Regions from separate parts of the Homo sapiens genome. Here region 2 is linked to region 1. Evidence: promoter capture Hi-C in human tissues and cell types (Jung and others, 2019). All regions are on one chromosome and are shown on one strand. Each heading gives the region's core, a stretch centred on a gene start or on the middle of the fragment in contact. The rest is flanking DNA. Distances are from core to core; before and after follow the strand shown. Region 1 holds the start of PCLO (piccolo presynaptic cytomatrix protein). Region 2 has its middle 41 kb from the start of PCLO.

Region 1 (5,150 bases), core at 717-3,216:
TAAGACATGCACACATGTACCCTTTCTCCAAAAAGCGGGTTCTAAATTCTAAACTCCATTTATAAAATGGTTGAATAAATAATGCTGATCATCTAAGTTATAACTTCATGACTTATTAATATTTTTCAATTTACAAATATTGTAAAGTGACAAAACTAATTTTATTACTTAATATTTTATACATTGTATGTCTATAGGAACACATTCTAAATACGAGTTTTTCTTTTATTTAAATTACAGATACACTTTGGACTAAGTATAAAGGAAAAAATTGATGGTTCAGATATTAAGAATTCAAAATTAAATTTATCAAACTTTTCACTAAAATACTTCTCGTGATTTTTCTCTCAAAATTGAGAAGCCAGTTTATAATCAGTTGTAACCTTACTTGAATTTCTTCCACTCTAACTGTAAATCCCACTTTAAAGTAGAGCTAACAAAAATGGCTGAGAGCAGCAATTCAGAAGTAACTCGGCCTTAACAAAAAATGAAGCGTCGGACCTTAAGCCACTGCAGGTTCTTGCTCCACTCAATGAACACAATCCTCTCTCACCTTCTGTTAGGAAGGAATATTAATTAAAGACCTTCATATGCACCTATATAAAAATTATAAGCCATATTGTCTATAGTTATACAATCGTATATATTCATACATACACAAAAATGCATGGACTTTTAAACATACGAAGGATGAGAATAGCTTGAGTTTTATTACTCATTACATCACACACAAAAGCAGTTACGGGTATTAATATACACTATGTCATTTTTTTTCGGCATTTGTTACAAAAGATGTTAGCATTTGGTTCCCTCATAAGAGACTGCATTATTTTTGTCATTTAAAAAAAAATCAGTTGTAATTATTCGTGCTTTTATACTGTAAAACTACAAATTCACTTTGGAAGGTAGAAGATCGAACTATGTAATGATTATTGCAAAAACCTGGACTTACTTTCTGAGCAACTTATTCATTTCTGTTTGATTTATTTATTCAGTCTCTATTACCTAACCTCAACAGTTGAGACATTAAGTTCACATTCTGAGGAAACGTAGGTAACAACATTGAGGCTGCAGATTCAGTGCTGAACAGTCCCGTCTAAGAAATGTAACAGCAAGAAAAGTGTAGGAGTGATAGTCGAAAGTGGGTCTCAAAAACTGGTTATTATGATAACGTGCTGCTAACCAATTGTGTGACTGTAACTTAACAGTCACACATTAAATGAACTTCGTGGGGTTCTTCTGTCCACATTTGTTAAAAAAGGGGCGGGGGAATAAAATCATGTTTTCAAACTTTCATACTAAAACATTTTAATATTTTTACAATCTCGATATTACTGCAGAACCCCACGTCCACAACTTCCCATAATCCTTTATTATTGTGTAGTCCCTCCCTTTAGGGAACTAGTTATAAGCACTCAAAACCTTAGCTGCTTACTAATATTGTATCATTTTAAATAATCTAATTAACAATTTAATTGTTCTGTGAAAGTTCTAAATGAAAAGGGCCATTCTTAGCTCCCTTGGGAAATGTGCCTCAAAGGTATCAGGGTCTCTCTTGCTAATCTTCAGTTACTTGAACCCTTTCCTAGAATGTTTTAAAACCTTCTTTTAAAGAAAATAAATGAAACTACAAATCCCAGGAGCCAAAGCTGAAAACAGACATTTCCTCTCCTGCCCCTCCCGCCCCCTTTAAATCTAGGTGTCTAGTAAGCTAAAACTCCAGTGAGGCATCCTGAAATATGCCTGAAAGAAACGTCGCCTGTTTCTTCCCTGTTTTTAGCCGGGCGTTCACTGGGCTCCTTTAAATCGGTGCTGAGAGCGAGGAAGGATCCGGAGCGACGCAGGATGGGGTGGGCGTGGGCCGCGGGCATCACCTGTTCCGAGAGGCGCCTGCGCACTGAGAGGGCGCGGGCGAGGAGGCGGTGCGCGGTGGGAGGGGCGGACGGCGCCCGGCTGGCACCGCTCAGATCTGCTTCTCCCCGGCTCGGGGCGCCGAGGCGGCGTCCGGGAGGTGTCTTCTGCAAAGGTTGCCTGGCGCTGTCCAACATGGAGGAGGCACCGGCAGCGGGCGTTACCTGCGAGCGGGACTAACCCCTGCCTGGCGTTCCGGGCGGCAGTGCCTGGTCCAGAGTCCAGGGACTCGGCTGCCTGCACGCCCCGAGGCGGACCCCGGCTCTGACTGCTCCCCTGGCCGCGGGCTTCTCGACTGGGACGCGGCGCGAGGAGGGAGCGCGGCGGCCCCGAGTCTCCCTGAGCCATGGGCAACGAGGCGAGCTTGGAAGGGGAAGGGCTCCCCGAAGGGCTGGCGGCGGCCGCAGCGGCTGGAGGAGGAGCTAGCGGGGCGGGGAGCCCCTCTCACACCGCGATCCCGGCCGGCATGGAGGCGGATTTGAGCCAGCTGAGCGAAGAGGAGAGGAGACAGATCGCCGCTGTCATGTCAAGGGCGCAGGGGCTGCCCAAGGGAAGCGTCCCCCCGGCCGCTGCGGAGTCGCCTTCCATGCACAGGCATGCACAGCATGATGTATATGTCCGGGCATATATGTACAGCTTCCCGTGCACATATGTGCCAGCCTGTATGTGCCAGCACGGCGGTACATATATGTCGCCTCCGTTCATTTTATTCTCCCCAGTGGGGTGGCCATAGAGAGATCCTAAGCCTTGTGATGGGCGGAATAAAAATGATGCATTGTAGAGTTTCTGGTGGGATAGTCAAGGGTTACATTCTTGGAACTGTGATTTTAGGTTGTGATTTTTGGCCTTTTGTAGCCCTTCCCCTCTAGGATGGCGTGGAGAGACGCCCTCCAGTGTTTTACTAATCTGGAAGTCTTCCATTAATACAACACGGACGTGTTAGGAAATGGATAGAGCTGGGTGTTTACCTGTCTCTGTTTAAACCTCTTGGCCATTGCGGGTCTTTTTCTCTGTGAATGATGTCTAAATATTTCTGTAACTTTAATCCCCTTGTAGGTGATTTGTCCTCTCTTGCCACCCCACCCCCAGAGGAGAGCAGAAGCTGTTTAGGTAGAAGGAATAGAATGAATATACCTTTTATATTCATTGAGGAACCCTAAAATATGTGTGGCATTAAACAGATGGTTTGGTCACAGCAGAGCAGGTGCTGTACATATATTTCTAAATTAGCATATGCTATTTTTAAGCCACTGCTCTGTTTTATGCAAAAGTGGCCTTCAGTTTAGGGAAGAACATGTGAATTTTATTACCTTAGAAAATAATTTTCAATACATACTTTTAAAAACAAAGCAAATAAATGGCAACTTGCATAGGCAAGTATAAGAGCTAATCAGTAATATGAATGTTTTCATTTCCGCCTGTAACTCTCCATTTTCCTTCATCCCAATAGATTAGTTGTTTTCTAATTAGAGTACTGAGAGGGGTATAATCATTGTGCCTGCCTTGCCTTTCTTACTGTAAACAAACCCTTTAACTTTGCACCCTCTAGTAGAGAACAGTTTTCTGTCCGTGGTTCTGAAACAATTCCTCTTTTATGACAACTGAAGGCAAACCTACAATTTTTCATTTGAGATACTGTAAGCACGAAAGACCTGGATATATAGGTGTAGATCCTTATCCTCCACTTTATAAAATAAAAAAAAAATTAACTTAGTCACTATCACGTAAGCATAATTTTGCCAAATAATTATAGGAGAAATGTAAAATGTTTTATGGATAGTGACAATATTTTCACATAAAATCTTAAATGCTTAAAATCTACCAGGTAAAAAGTCTGTTTATCTTGAAACTACTAGTACTAGTGAAAACTAGCCCCTTTATGTTAAATATGTTTTTCTGTGTTTTTAAACTAGTAATCCATGGGGCTATTTGGAAAAAGTCTTTCTTGTTCTCTTATCCAGTTTATGATATGTACTGTTTTCCTCTACTTGATGAAAACTTGACAAGAAAAAAAATTTAGTGTTCATTCAGTAGACTTTCACAGGATAATAACAAGGTATGATACTTTTATTAGCCTTTTAGAACTGTATGCCAGATCTTTTATATTTTTTCCTAAGAGGCACAAGCAACAGGTCTATCATGCTGGTTACCAATACCAGTTACAGTGAGATCTTTGATTTCTAGATTTCTAACTTTTCTTCTGTTTAGAAGGTGGCTGAGAAACATTATTTCCACCTATAAAACTGTTGCTTCATGCACTATTTGCATCAGATAGTATACTTTTAAAGCTCTCTATTGATAATTTTATTATGATGGAAATCTTATCAATAGTTAGTGTATGGCCCAAACAGTATTGGTGAAAACTTCATCCAAATACTAAAAAATAAATAATAATTTTCTGACCTTTGCAACTTACTCTTACATTTTACTGAAAGATTTCTATAAAAGGTACATAACTTTTTAAAAGTTATTTTCCCTATATATGGTTACCAAAGAAACATTTGGTTTTTCACTTAGACTTTTAAAGTTATAGAGTTATGTAAATTTAATTAATATAGGACGGCATACACAAATTATTTGAAGTTTTAAGCATTTAAGTGGTGTGAATTGAACATAGAATTTTAAAAATAAAGATTGACAGCATGGGTTTTTATCCTATTGATTTTGACCAACTCATAGCAAATTACAAATACTTCTCAATCAATGTGTCTCATGTTCCTTGCCTTTAAATAAGGCTACTAATACCTATCTCACCTGTCTTAGTCCATTGAGGATCAATTAAAAGTTGAGATGAATGTTTTTGTTTGAGTTGTAATTTACACAAACCCTACAAATGTAAAGAGTGGCAATATCGGTATCAGCAATGGGTGACACTGTCACCGATGGCTACAGACAAATTGTTGAATTGTACATTGTTTTTGGGTTATTTTGATGTGTCAGTTTTCTTTTACATGTGGAAAAATCAGTTCAATGGGGTGTAAACCACCTCCTCTGCCCACAAACCAGGAGTGAGGATACCAGATTTCTGTGACTAACTAGTTTTATGACCTTGAATTAGTCACTTTGCTTCTCTTAGTCCCTATATCCTGGGACTTAGAGCATAAATGCATAGATATTCATTTATTTATATAATATATAAAAATTAACAGATAGTCCCAAAGTTGCTTATATTTCTAATATTATAAAATTTTATGTGACTCAGCACTGTCAAGTGTCATTGTTTGTTGTGTTCCATTTAT
Region 2 (5,126 bases), core at 1,579-4,078, 40 kb before region 1:
TGTGTGTCACTTGGATTTGACAATATGATCCTTTGTGTTGCCTCACATATAAAGGACTCTAAATTGCTCCTGTGCTCTATGAAGAAGATGCAAAGGTGCTAAAAGGGCCAGGGAACTACCAAAGACTTTACACAAAAAAAACAAAAAAAGTCACAGTGTTCAGAAAATAAATGTTTGGTCCAATGTTGGTGAACTTATTGTGATCCAATAATTTTTGTAGAATAAAAGCTCCATAAGAATGGGGATTCATTATTCTGTTTTGTCACTCTATTTCTAATATATTTACTGAGCGCATAGTAAATTCTCAGTAAATAAAAATAAGACATATAAAATAATATTTATCAATAATAAATATAGATAATTAAATGTATAAATAAGTAATTGCATATATCATAATTTAAATAGTCTTTTCAGGTAATTCATCCTCTGCTTGGATGTCTCAGGGATGTGCTCAAATATGTCCCAGGTACGGCGCTCTCATGCTCCTCTCTAGACGGTATCAATGTACATGGAGTAGGAGTTTATGTAACCATGCAATAAAAGAGAGATTAAGAAGGTCATTGAATTAACATTGGAATTATCTGAATCTCCTGAGATCTCTGCTGTGGTTAGAGTAAGAGAGACCTCAAATATCAATATGCTAGCATCTAAAGTAATTTAGAAACTTATTTCTTTATAAGTGTTTCTAGCATTGATAATCATTGTCATGCTAAAGATGTGAAGAAATTCAGCCTCAGGACTCAATCCTGACAAGTGGCTTCTTTCTTCTAGGATTTACCTTTCTATTTCTTCCTGCGTAATACACTATGGGATTAGGACTTGAATTCAGAAGGCTGCAAAAGAATACGTTTTGAGGGCAAAACGAAATCAAATATTTAATATTTGCAAAATATTTTCTCTCTTATCTAAAGTCACAAAGTCCCTCCTGCTTACCCTGATTTGCTTTCTCCTCTCCTACATATTTCTGCTGCCTCCCTTTATACAGCAGCAGAAAAAGGTAGGCAATTCCCATTTGGAGATCCAAAGATTTCAAAGAGAAGGGGATGGTAATGGACGCAGCCTTGAAAAAGAGAAGTGGTGAATGAAGACATGGAGAAAAGGTTTGAGGAAGAGAAAATCAATGAGAATACATTCTTCTCTAGTCAAAGAAATAGCCCAGCAGGTACACTGTTCAGTGAGTCTCCCATTTCAGGTAAATGGGTTTAGACAAAGGACACCATTTAACTATACCTCCCAGATCTCCTCCCAGATCTTTGACCACTGACAGATATTTGAGTCATCCGCATGGTGAGCAACAGAAAGACAGGAGAGCAAGTTACAAAGATTGTAGAGTGATCAGAATTGACTAGAAGTGCCAGATGAAGTTCAATTCTTCAAAAGGAGAAGAAAATGGGTTACTTAGCTGAAATATAATGTAGAAAGGCAATGAATTCAATGAAATAAGTAAGGTCAGCAAGGCCTTGGAAAGAAAGAGAGAAAATTAGGAAGGGGAAAATTGCGTTTATATTCTTATGAGAACAAAAAGGAAAGAAAAAACACAGTGGGAGTTTAATCAAGTAGTTAAGAGCTTTTTGCATACAGTTTTGAAAAGAGAGAAAATATGTGCACTTAGAGACTGGGTCATATAGGGACTAGTTACACCCATTCTAGAAAGTGCCCAGGAAAAGTTTGACAGGATTTTTGATGCAGAAAGATGAAGCTCTGGAGATAAAAAATAATTCAGCTTTATTAACCCTCCCACTGAGAAGGATGCTTTTGTGAGAGACAGATGACACAACTGCTGAGAAAATCTTTGCTGGCCACCTAAATGTATGTCTAGGAAACCAAAGATCAGCACAATTTAGGAAAATTAACAGCATGAAATAGAAGGCTTAATCAGAACAAATGACAAGGAAGAGAACAGATAATTTAGGGAACAAAAGAAAAAAAAATTCTGATGGATGTCCTCAGAAGGATTATAGAGGATGCTGCATCCGAAAACAAAATCAAGCTTCTATAAAAAGAAGCAATCAGAAAACAACAAAAAGTTTGAGAACTGTTCAAAATAGATCGAAAAGTTTTTTTTAATCAATGAAAGGGCTGGATATTAGATTTAAATAATGATAGGCCAAACGAATAACCCAAAGATGAGTCAAGAAGGTGCTCTAAAAATTTTAGGAAATGAAAGAACTTGCCATATCTTCCTAAAAAGAGATATTGGTGGAAACAGATAAAAAGATAAGAGAGCAGAAAATCAAACAAATAAGAAAAGAAGGTCTCCTTGACTTGAAGAAAAACATCCTTCTTCAGACGGAAAGGAACTCTTTGGATTGAGCAAAATAACTAAGAAAAGACCAGCACTTATACAGACCCTGGAAAAGTATTGCAACCCCTAAAACAAAACCTTCTACAACTTATTTATAAAGAAGTTCAAAAAACAGGTGGACTTCAGACATCTTATCTTTCATAATAGACACAAGAAGAAAATGAAGTATGTTTTCAAAATCTCAAAAGACAGGTAAAAGAAGAACTCAGAGTTCATTATTCAGGCAAATTCTCATTTAAATATGAGGGAACAATAAATACATTTTTAGATGTCTATGGTTGCTGGTACTGTGCTATGTTTGGGCCTTCTCTAAAGATTTGCTCAAGTTGGTACTACCAAATATGAACAAAATAAGTTCAAAAACTGGAAGGACGTGATAGATAAGAAGCAGTCATTAGAAAAGAGATAGTGGTTATTAAAGGAAATTACAGTTATGTCCAAAGAGTTTTAAATTTAGGAGGGCACACATTTCCTGAACCAAAGAGTTAATATTAGCTGTGAAGGGTGATATATTTTATCTGTGTGGATCAGAAGCAGCTTGGGTAGCTCTGGACATGAAAGGTAAGTGGGTGGATTTCAATAGGTGTTACAGGTCTCTCGGTGAAGATGAGCTGTAAACAAAGTATAGAGACAGGAAAGAAAAAAGTGATTTTAGGGAACGGCAAATGGATCAGTCACACTTGAATCACTGTTGGAAAATAGTGAGAGATCAGAATGAAAATATGATAGGAATACAGTGATCTTGATATTAAAATTAAAGTGAACAAAATAAGATGTTGCTTATTAGTATTTAATACCTTTTTGTATTAAAGCAAAACAAGGCAAAATCAAAACTAAAAGCAATCTCAAAATTATACCAACTGTTCTTCTTTTTTATTATTTCTGTACCTTAACTAATGCTTTCCTTCTGTGAGAGTACAACTACAATTACACTAATAAATATTATGCTTTTTATTCCATATATTTGTTCTTACATATAATTTTTTATTTTGTCTTTGTGGTGGTCTGGTTATAGTCCATAAACTAATCATAAGGGTCAGATAGTAGAGAATGAAACTTTCTTTACCTATGTGTCATAATTCAAATATTGTTAAAGTTTATTGTGAGCATTCTAATAATGAATAGTATATGTTGTCTCTAAATATTAATGAAAAGATAAAGGAACAGATGTGAAAGTAAAAGAGAGTTTTAACAAAGCACTTTAGCTGGCATATGCTACCCCAAATTTGATCTTACCTATATGAAGAATATGTGTATAGCATATTCTTAACATATTATCATATTAACATAATAATAACATATTAAATTGAACAGTTTTTTGTTTCTTTATACTATTATCCCAAAAAATTCACCAGTGAAATCTTTCTAAAGGTGTCTTTAGTAATGTATGCAAGCTAGTCATTGTCCAATAATGAGTTTGATTCAATTACATTGGTAATAGCAGTCTTTCTTCTTAAAGCTGTGTGCATCCATGTATGAACACCAAGAATAGCTATCAAAGACTACCACAATTATCACTATGAGTGGCACTACAAAGAACACCACAAAAAATTGTTTACAAGCTTTCAGATCTACAATAGAGAGGACAGAATTTTTAAATAAAATGCCTTGCCAAATTTCAGTTTTCGTATTTAAAAAAAATTTTAAAAGGGAGGGAGGGAGGGAGGAAAACAGACAGGGAAGGAGGGAGGAAAAGAAAGAGGGAGGGAGGAAGGGTAAAAGAAAGGGACACAAAAACTTTTTTTGTTTTTTAATTTATTTTGCCATTGATGTCAAACATTTTTCAAATTATAGATTTTTCTCACCTTTAAGTGACAAAAAGCCAAAATAGGGTGTAAAAATTATATTTCGTAAAGGAAAATATGTTTCTTTGACCTTAGTTTCTGGGTCAGCTTGGGGCCTCTGAGAAGTTGATACTAAGTTGGGACTTGTTATGCAAATCCCATTTATGGAGGGAAAGGCTTGTAAAGGATAAAGAGGAGAGGGAGTAAAGGAAGGTGTAGATAGCCTTCAGATAGATGTGTGCGTAATGCCTGATACTAGACACTAGGAGAAACAAACAAACAAACAAACAAAAAAGAGAAGGCTGTTGAATAGGAAGAACTTCATATTACAATGCAGTTCTGAGAAAGTCTTGGTGAGGTTTTGAGCAAAAGTTGCCCTATAGAGGAGTCCTAGGTACAGGCAGAAATGAGCCAGCTCTGCTATTGCTGCTTTGCACAGCCAATGGCCAGGAGTTACCCAGTGGCAGTGTGGCCTCAGCAGTGTGGACTTGAGTACTCTGCTGAAGGTGGAGAAGTAGCCAATGGAGGCTGTCAGCCAGACAAGCTCCTTACAGCAGGCTCTCTTGAAGGGAGTTCTGAGCAGTGCAACTCCAAAGTCCCACATCTTCTTTTACCAATCCTTCCATTTTCTCTTATTTTTCTTTCTTTTATGTTGCGGCAGCACCAGTGAATAAGAAATATTGTTTTCCTGTTTCTATTTTTCTGAATATTTATAACACTTACCTTCTTTGGTCCAGTGTTGATTTATTTTATAACATAATAGTCCGCCAAATAATAGCCAAAAAGAGGTATTTCACGGAAGTGATACTTTGGGCTTCTTGCTCATTTAACTCCAACAATTTGGTTGCTAGTTTAAGGCTATTAGAGAAATGTGACTGATTAACAGTTTTTAGACCTTTGCTTCCTATGCCTCAGTAGAATCCTAATGTGTATATATTTGTTACCACACACCTGTGGGAAGCAAATGGGGACTAACTATAGTTGAAATTTCCTTAGCTCATATAATTACAGAGAATCTCATCCACAAAGTCGAAATC

Evidence for each region. The method cuts DNA at HindIII sites, captures the fragments that hold promoters and counts their contacts. A contact is called where the count stands out against the background at its distance.
Region 2: a contact is called between a fragment that was not itself captured here and the fragment with the promoter of PCLO in region 1, in 1 of the 25 tissues and cell types used here (hippocampus).

The regions. Positions count from the first base shown.
Region 1 is chr7:83,159,700-83,164,849 of GRCh38, reverse strand. PCLO (piccolo presynaptic cytomatrix protein) reads left to right here and starts at 1,966. Exons shown (of 25, transcript NM_033026.6): 1 at 1,966-2,505. The coding sequence starts at 2,258. RefSeq lists an enhancer at 2,044-2,113 and a silencer at 2,234-2,323. The HindIII fragment of the contact is 31,773 bases long and covers 1-5,150 here.
Region 2 is chr7:83,200,997-83,206,122 of GRCh38, reverse strand. No RefSeq gene overlaps it. Among named protein-coding and RNA genes, the nearest start is that of PCLO, 41 kb to the right of the region's middle. RefSeq lists an enhancer at 873-1,495. The HindIII fragment of the contact is 6,136 bases long and covers 1-5,126 here.